3 separate regions of the Homo sapiens genome follow, and regions 2 and 3 are each linked to region 1. Evidence: promoter capture Hi-C in 16 types of primary human blood cells and fetal thymus (Javierre and others, 2016). All regions are on one chromosome and are shown on one strand. Each heading gives the region's core, a stretch centred on a gene start or on the middle of the fragment in contact. The rest is flanking DNA. Distances are from core to core; before and after follow the strand shown. Region 1 holds the start of AGBL3 (AGBL carboxypeptidase 3). Region 2 overlaps AKR1B1 (aldo-keto reductase family 1 member B). Region 3 holds the start of LINC03060 (long intergenic non-protein coding RNA 3060).

Region 1 (2,700 bases), core at 83-2,582:
AGTTTTTAAAATTATGCATTAAGATCATTTTTCTTCCCATGGACTACTTGGTATGTGATAATATAACTATTTGGACTAAAAATCACGAGACTTAAGTCTCTCAGCCCTGCCATTAATTTCTTATATAACCTGGTTAGACCATTTCTCAGTTTTACCTTGTACAGCTGACATCCTATGGCTTGCAGCCATGACTAAAATCCAACAGAAAAACAGATTACATAAATAAAGATTTCTCTGTGCATGTCACCTTTAGTGATTTATGTATGGCATAAAACAAGCTTCAACTATAAGAGCTACTTTTCAAGAGGTTGATCTAAGATATACTCTATTAATATTCTCTGGCCAAGGTCTAATCTGGAAGGTTCATACTTTTAAACTGCTGACCTCAAAAACACCTATTTTCAGATACTTACAAAATACAAAGAGATTATGTTAACCCATTTCCATGCTTAAGCCATAGTGCTTTGCCCTTTATTCTACTTTCAAACTTGCTACCATTTATTATCTCCATTTCTACAATATCACGAATCTCATGACATATAACGCTTTGTGAAAAGTGTTTATTTACATTCTTATATCATCAAAATCTAGACTTTTTTTCAGCTGTACTTGGAAAACTTTTCCAAATAGATTACCTTACCCTGTAGAGCTAAAGATGAGGGAAAAAATCAATATGGGATGTTCATGAATAACGTCTGTTAACTAAATGAGACTACATATAGTGATTTGCAGTCATCAGGAAAACAGTGTTAAATATGCTAGCTGACGATTGCTATAAAGAATCTCTGAGCTGATAATTTTGAGAATTCACCCTAGTTCATCTATGACTCTCCATTTAGTATTTAAGGAGAAAAGCCTCATTTTCCAGAATCGAATAAGCGAATTAATCGCACAATTGTGTAGAATGGAACTCAGTCTGTAAAAAATCAAGACCAACGTACTTTTTAATATTCTAACATCTCCAAGTAGTAGTTACAAGTATTGTACCCATGAAGTCCAGGTAATTAATTTGTTCAATGTCACACTGTTAAAAGTCAGGTGGGCTCCAAAGCACAGTCCTAACCAGCATGCTCTACTGCCTCCTCTGAGGCAACAGCCGAAGTGCAGACCACTGGGAATAAATAGCTGCCCGGTCTTCCCCACTCCTAAATTCTCCCGACAGACCCCAAAGCCTCTCTGAGAGCCTCTCTGACCGCCCTGCGGCCCACCCCGAGTTCCCGGCATCCTCTGGGATCCCTCTTCCTGGAGCCAAAACCTACGCAGGCTCCTTTCCTCCGAGCTGGTTGCTAGGTGATCTCCGAAGGCTGTCCGAAGTCTCGCGAGGGCGGACCCGTTGCCTGATGACGAGAGTTGGGAGTGTGGCTGGGGCTGCGGATCTCCAGCAGTGGCGTTACTTCTAGCGGCTGGATACCGGGTTCTCCGCGAGATCGCGAGATCCCGAGATATTCTCCCCGCACGGAAGCGACGACTGGCCTGGCCAGAGGACTCGCGTGGGAGCGAGGTGCCGGCCCCGACAGGACGGTGAGGTATGCAGAAGTAAGGCGGGGCGCCCCCTGCGGGAAGCGAGCGCGCCCCGGAAAATGAGCGCCTCCCCACACCAAGGTGTCCAGGAGTGAGTGCGGGAAGGAACTCGGCCGCCCGGAGTTGTGGCCTCATCGTGCTTCCCGCCAAAAACGCCTTGGTACTGTCGGGACGCGGCTAAGCGTGGACGCGCCCGCATCTGCCCCTCCTCCGCAGTGGTGGAAGACACCCGCGGAGCGCCGGTGGATAAGGGCCGTTTCCTGAGACCAGAGCTGTATCCGCAGCAGGTCAGCACTTCGTGCGCCCTGTGTGCACCTGTAAGGAATGGAATTTAGGCCAGTCGGATTTTCCAAATGTGGAGTTGTGATGCCCAGGCAGAAACTTCAGTTTCTTAGGACTGAAGGTGTCATCTATGAGACAGTCGGTTCCGTGGCATTGGCAGTGATTTGCCATAGAGCTTGGACTTAACTTATATGTAGTCCACGCTCCAAAACACGCTTCCTGTAGAGAGGGGCGTAAACTAATAGATTTGAAATTGTCGAGTCCTTTGGTCTCTCAAGAACGATGGGAACTTGACAAGAAATTTCGATTATTCCCTGGTCTTGATATTACCCACATGGGAAGATACTTGCATAGAATGGTAATGGTCATTACCAATACAACCTTCTGGTAGCTATTTAGATTTCTAAGAATAAGAATAATATAAATGAATATTAGAACAGACAGTATCTACAGAATAATAATCAAAATGTAAAGTCTTGTCACTTGAACTTTTGGTCAAGTGAAAATCAAGGAGAAAACTTAAAATTATATTGCTACATTTCAGTAAGTGACTATAATTTTTAAATTCATTATCTTTTAATGCCTCAGGATCATTCTGAACTTGCTGTGTAGTATTTAATTGTAAATATAAAATGTGAATGATTTGGCTGTATACTCTGGAAATTCCTTTTAATTAAATGATTTGCTTGATTTGTCTTATTGTGGTTGTTGTCTCGTATAGTCATGGAAAATTCCTTTAACTCTTTGAAATTGAAGGTTTTATTAGTTGTATTCTAATTAGTTTTTAGAGAAGACTGTTGTGACTGTTAAATACAATTGAATATATTTTTGAGTACTCATTTAATGTAGTAAACACCTACAGCTTGAAAAGAAAAGCTGTCATATAATTTCCTTAGA
Region 2 (2,700 bases), core at 101-2,600, 540 kb before region 1:
GAATGTTGGTGTCACTGGGAACCACATTGCCCGACTCATCCAATGGGAAAAATTCCTTCCCAGGCTGTCATTACAATAAAAAACAAACAAACAAAACAATCAGTAATAGTCCTTCACAGACCTGCTGGGGGAAGCTGGCATCTAAAACAATTCTAAACCACCACAGCTGGCTAGGGATAATCTGTGTGCCACTATGAAAAGGAAATAGGCAGATAGCCAACACTTCTTTATCAAACGGGCTGGAGCTGAGACTGTCAGACGGAGACATGGACACTACTTGGTCACAGAGACTAGCCCCGCCACTGACTGCAATGTGTGGATACAGGAAGGACTCAAGACCAGGACTCACAGGGCCCAAGGCCTGGCGGGTCACTGGCCTATAAAACTACCACCTGGCCCAGCCTCCCCAGCTTACCCCTAAAATCAAAAGATAAAAGTCAAGTCCCTTCAGCCCTGATATGCTGTGGTGCAATAAAACAGGGCTACGGGATAAAGCTAAACCCACACTTTGAACCTGGCTCACAGCAGAAAACTGAGGCAGTGGCTAGAAAAAAGGCAAAAGACAAAGTAACTCTCAAGTTCTTCTTGTGCCAACAACTAGACTGCAAATAGTTACCGGGCCTCCACAGGACAGGGTATGCATGTAGAACGTGGGTAGGGACTCATGTGTATGGGGGTTGGTGTGTGCACGTGCCTGGAGGGGAGGGCCAGGGCTGACCGTGCCTCATGGCTGTGTGCACTACAGACAGCAGCTGTGTTTGCTGACAGTTTTAAATTGCACATCTACCAACTGGCAAAGAGCAGTGCTCCTCAAACTTTGAAGAAGTGTGCGTATGAGTCACTGCTGGTGCGGATTCAAATGGCCTGCGTGGGGCCCGAGACTGTGATTTCTAAGACGCTCCCAGGTGATGCCAGTGCTGATGGTCCACTGGCTATACCTTGAGCAGCAAGAACAGAAAGTCACCCACACGTAATCTGCTAAGGGAGCTCAAAACACACCACAGGTTGCACCTGAGCCCCAAGGGACCTGGTCTGCACCAGGCATCCCATACCTTAAAGCCAGTCGGCCAGTGAATAAGGTAGAGGTCCAGGTAGTCCAGCTTCAGGTCGCTGAGTGTCTTCTGGCAGGCTCCTTTCACCAGGCCCTTCTCATGGTACGTGCACCACAGCTAAGCCAGCGAGAGGGCACATGTCATCATTGCCAGCCACAAGGCAGCTTCCTGGCTGGAAAGACAGAGCAGTCTCCTCTCCCCAAAACCCATTTGCTTTACCATGATGCTGTGAATGGTTGTGAGGGCATTTCCACTGCGTACTGGATCCTAACTTTCCAAAGGCAGGCAGGATGACCAGGTCACAGAGACCTCTTACAAGGACCAGAGGACACAAAATGGAATGGACAGATTGGCTAGCCTGCCCTAGGCCTAAGCAAGAACTCTCGAAACTTTCCCCCCGGGCTGGTGTTTGTGGAGCCAGCCCCATCCTCCTGCCTCATGTCCTTTGTGCATCAGTATCTCAGGTCAAAGACAGTGGCTAGCACTGGAGATTCAGTTTGCAGATGGGAACCAAGTTCCATCCTTGAAAGCGACTCCCTGGAAAGGGAGGGCCAATCCACAACCTCAGCCTCATCAGCACGGGACTCTAAGCAATGGGCCCAGATGGAATGACCATTCAACAGAGAGCCAAGGATGGGCGAGCTCTGGAGCCCTGTATGGCCGTGGGTGATACGTTTCCCCGGGAAGAATCGCCCATCAGTGAAAAGTGTAGCTGTATTGAGTGTGGACTTGGCTTTGGGCTGATGCACCAACAGATGATGGGACCGAGAGCCCCTTCCAGCCCCACCGCGGAACGATACCTTGCTGACGATGAAGAGCTCCTCACGCTTCACCACCTGCTCCCTGAGCTTCTCCTGAATGGCCACCCCCACCTCATTCTCATTCTGGTACACATGGGCACAGTCGATGTGGCGGTACCCGACGTCAATGGCCACCTTCACGGCCTCAGTCACCTGCCCTGGAGGGGACTGAAAGGAGAAAGAACGTGAGCCCCGCAGAATGCAGAGTCTGCACAGCAAGGAGGAGGGGCAGTGGCAGCCACCGATACCTGCTGACCAGCCTGCCACTTTGTTCAGCAAAGACAGACCACGTGCACTTCCTCAGCAGCATTCTGGACTATCAGCCTCAGACGCGGGGGATGGAAGTGAAAGGCCACACAGCATTGCCCTGTAGGAGAATCTGACAGCCACTTAAGTGTAGGTGAGATCACTTTTAAAAGATATGCTGAAGCCATCTCATTTTCTTGCTTCTTCACATCCACTGATTTGCAAACCACTGTATTAAAAACATTTCCCCACACTCTGAATGCTGAGATAGTAAGGGAAACCATTTCCTTCAAATATCTCAAAATATTTCAAAAATAGATGTCCTATGGACCCCAATTCCCATGTGGCTCCCCAGTTCAGCCAGTGAATGCCTGCCCCTTACGCTCTCTTTTCATGCATGGCTTCTGATACCGGCAGTCGCTTGTTTTCAAGCGGTTCTGGGAGATTATCATGAAGTTAAGCACATCACTGATGTTTATTCAAAGGCCCATGTGTCAATTCTCACTGTATGAGGATCTGCTTCAAGGGGTGGAGACACGGGAGATGGCCCCTCAGAGGTATCAGCAGAGAGAAATAAGTTAAAGGGAAACGAGGGGGAATGT
Region 3 (2,715 bases), core at 56-2,555, 550 kb before region 1:
AGGTGCAAAGCTGGCATAAAATCAAGGATAGTGTGTTTTCTTTTCATCATTTTTCATGCCAGGATCCCCTTGGCAAGCTGCGGAAGCTTTTGGAGCCCTTCTAAGAAAAATGTTTTTAAGTACATAAAATTAAACACACAAGATTACCAAGGAATTCTTTAGTTTTGAAAGACTGCTATCACAATATTTTTAAAAACCAAATTTGTAATATGATAATATATAGGCTTTTTATTAACGACTAAATAACAGGTCTAGTGACAGGTTTAATAACTCTGGTAATTTCAAAGTAGTGATGCACATAGATGACATCGTGAGATATTCCTAGTAACAGTAATGGGATATAGCAAGAGCTGTGACTTTCTATTTGTGACAAAGTTACAGGCCCCACTTCTGTTCTCTATATTCACGATAGAATGTAATATTTTCCATGTCCATGTTCACAGACCTCTCGGATTCAATCCAGACCTCTTGTGGGTGCCAGTTTAAGAACTGCTGCATGGGCCATGCACGGTGGCTCACACCTGTAATCCCAGCACTTTGGGAGGCCAAGGCGGGCAGATGGCTTGAGGTCAGGAGTTCAAGACCAGCCTGGCCAACATGGCGAAACCCCATCTCTACTAAAAATACAAAAATTAGCCGGGTGTGGTGGCAGGTGCCTATAATCCCAGCTACTCAGAAGGCTGAGGCAAGAGAATCGCTTGAACCTGGGAAGCGGAGGTGGCAGTGAGCCGATATAGCGCCACTGCACTCCAGGCTGGGCGACAGAGTGAGACTCTATCTCAAAAAATAAATAAATAAGAAAAGAACTGCTGCACAAGAGTGAATGTTTGAAGCAAGCAGGAGGGAGGCGAATTGCCCAAAGATCAGGAAGAAAAGAAAGAGGCTGGGATGGTCATAGATCTGCCGAGGAGCACAAGAAGTGAAGAGGAAAAATGACACGGAAGATGCCAGAATGTGGACTGATGGAAGTAAAAGGGCAGGAATGGTCTGACAGATGTCTCTGTTGACAGAGGATACCCCACCCAGAATACAGCCCGTCAGAAACGGGAATGTTCACAGTGGCCCAGAGCGCGGACTTTGAAGCCTGACACACCTAGGCGTGAACCCCCGCCCTGCTGCGTTTATCAGCACGTATTTTGCACAAGTCATTTAACTGCTGTGTCTTAGTTTGTCTTCTGTTTAGTGGGGATAATAATACATCCCTTACAAAATTGCTTTGAGCAGCAGTCTCCAACATTTTTGGCACCGGGAACTGGTTTTGTGGAAAACAATTTTTCCACAGACCTGGCGGTGGGGAGGTGGTTTCGGGATATTATTATTACATTTTAATACATAATGAGATAATTATACAACTCACCATAATGTAGAATCAGTGGGAGCCCTGAGCTTGTTTTCCTGCAACTAGACGGTCCCATCTGGGAGTGATGGGAGACAGTGATAGGTCATCAGGCGTTAGATTCTCATAAGGAGCGCGCAGCCTAGATCCCTCGCATGCGCAGTTCACAGTAGGGTTCATGCTCCTATGAGACGCTAATGCCGCTGCTGACCCGACAGGAAGCGGAGCTCAGGCGGTAATGCGAGAGGGGAGTGGCTGTAAAAACAGATGAAGCTCTGCTCGCTCGCCCATCGCACGCCTCCTGCTGTGCGGCCCCGTTCCTAACAGGCCATGGACTGGTACCGGTCTGTGGCCCCGGGAGTTGGGGACCCCTGGCTTTGAGGATTAAATGAGACAGTGTATGTAAAGGGCTTTTTACTGCACCTATTGGATTGTACCACTTCCATCAATAGCTCTGGCAACAGTATCATTGTCGTCGCTGTTACTAGGAAGGTCCACTTCCCAGCAGTAAGCAGGGCCTCCCACCAGGGATTACCAAAAATCATTGTTGACCATTTGTGGCCAGAAGGGGGAAGCATACACCACACTATAAGCTCAGGAGGCTAAGGACGGGGAGTGGCGAGTGTGGATGGGGACTTCCTTTTGCTCACACAGGCTGAACTCGATGACCGAGGCTTCCTTCGCCCCCTTTGCTTGGCCATGGTGCTCGGAAGCCTACCGGTCCTTGCTGTAGGACCAAGCGCACCCAGACTGCCTAGGCACTGTCAGGGATGTTCTGGTGAGGAAGGCAGGCCAGGGACCCGGCAGAGACCAGCTGGTGTATATCCCATTCTAGCCAAGCAGCATTTGAATCACATACATCGAGAGGGCAGGTGCTGGGGTCAGGGAAGAATTCTACCACACAGTAGTTGGAGCTACGTACTTCCTTCAACTCTTCATGTTATCTAACTTTTCACCTGCTTTCTTTTTGGTAGGAATATCATCTGCCCTCCACACAGTCCCAGGAACGAACAGGCTTTACACATGCTGTGCCCAACTTAGAAACATCTAACCTAGAATGGCCTGTTCTGTCCTCCCTCACCCCACCATGAAGAAATTATTGCCCAGCCTGGGCCACATTGTGAGACTCTACATTAAGAAAAAAAAAAGCCAGGTATGGTTGTGCACACTTGTAGTCCCAGCTACTTGGGAAGCTTACTGGGAGGATTGCTTGAGCTGGGGAAGTTGAGGCTGCAGTGAGCCATGATCGCATCACTGCACTCAAGTCTGGGTGACAGAGCAAGACCCTGTCTCAAAAAAAAAAAAAAAAAAAAAAGAGGAAGAAGAAGAAGAAATTATTGCCGTATTTCTCCCTGTACAGAAAATTATGCAAAGTTTTT

What was found. Contacts are between HindIII fragments. The CHiCAGO score rates a contact against its expected background, and 5 or more counts as called.
Region 2: a fragment that was not itself captured here is called in contact with the fragment with the promoter of AGBL3 in region 1 in 6 of 17 cell types (non-activated CD4 T cells, naive CD4 T cells, total CD4 T cells and 3 more); the score reaches 7.4 in non-activated CD4 T cells.
Region 3: a contact is called between a fragment that was not itself captured here and the fragment with the promoter of AGBL3 in region 1, in 2 of 17 cell types (naive B cells and total B cells). The highest score is 5.4, in naive B cells.

What each region holds. Positions count from the first base shown.
Region 1 is chr7:134,985,176-134,987,875 of GRCh38, forward strand. It overlaps AGBL3 (AGBL carboxypeptidase 3), which reads left to right and starts at 1,333. Exons shown (of 17, transcript NM_178563.4): 1 at 1,333-1,526; 2 at 2,700. RefSeq lists enhancers at 1,235-1,534, 1,545-1,684, 1,765-2,024. The HindIII fragment of the contact is 3,121 bases long and covers 277-2,700 here.
Region 2 is chr7:134,449,734-134,452,433 of GRCh38, forward strand. It overlaps AKR1B1 (aldo-keto reductase family 1 member B), which reads right to left. Exons shown (of 10, transcript NM_001628.4): 2 at 1,853-2,020; 3 at 1,053-1,169; 4 at 1-64. Among named protein-coding and RNA genes, the nearest start is that of AKR1B1, 8.0 kb to the right of the region's middle. The HindIII fragment of the contact is 5,053 bases long and covers 1-2,700 here.
Region 3 is chr7:134,430,957-134,433,671 of GRCh38, forward strand. LINC03060 (long intergenic non-protein coding RNA 3060) reads right to left here and starts at 1,464. Exons shown (of 3, transcript NR_183392.1): 1 at 1,358-1,464. The HindIII fragment of the contact is 2,443 bases long and covers 85-2,527 here.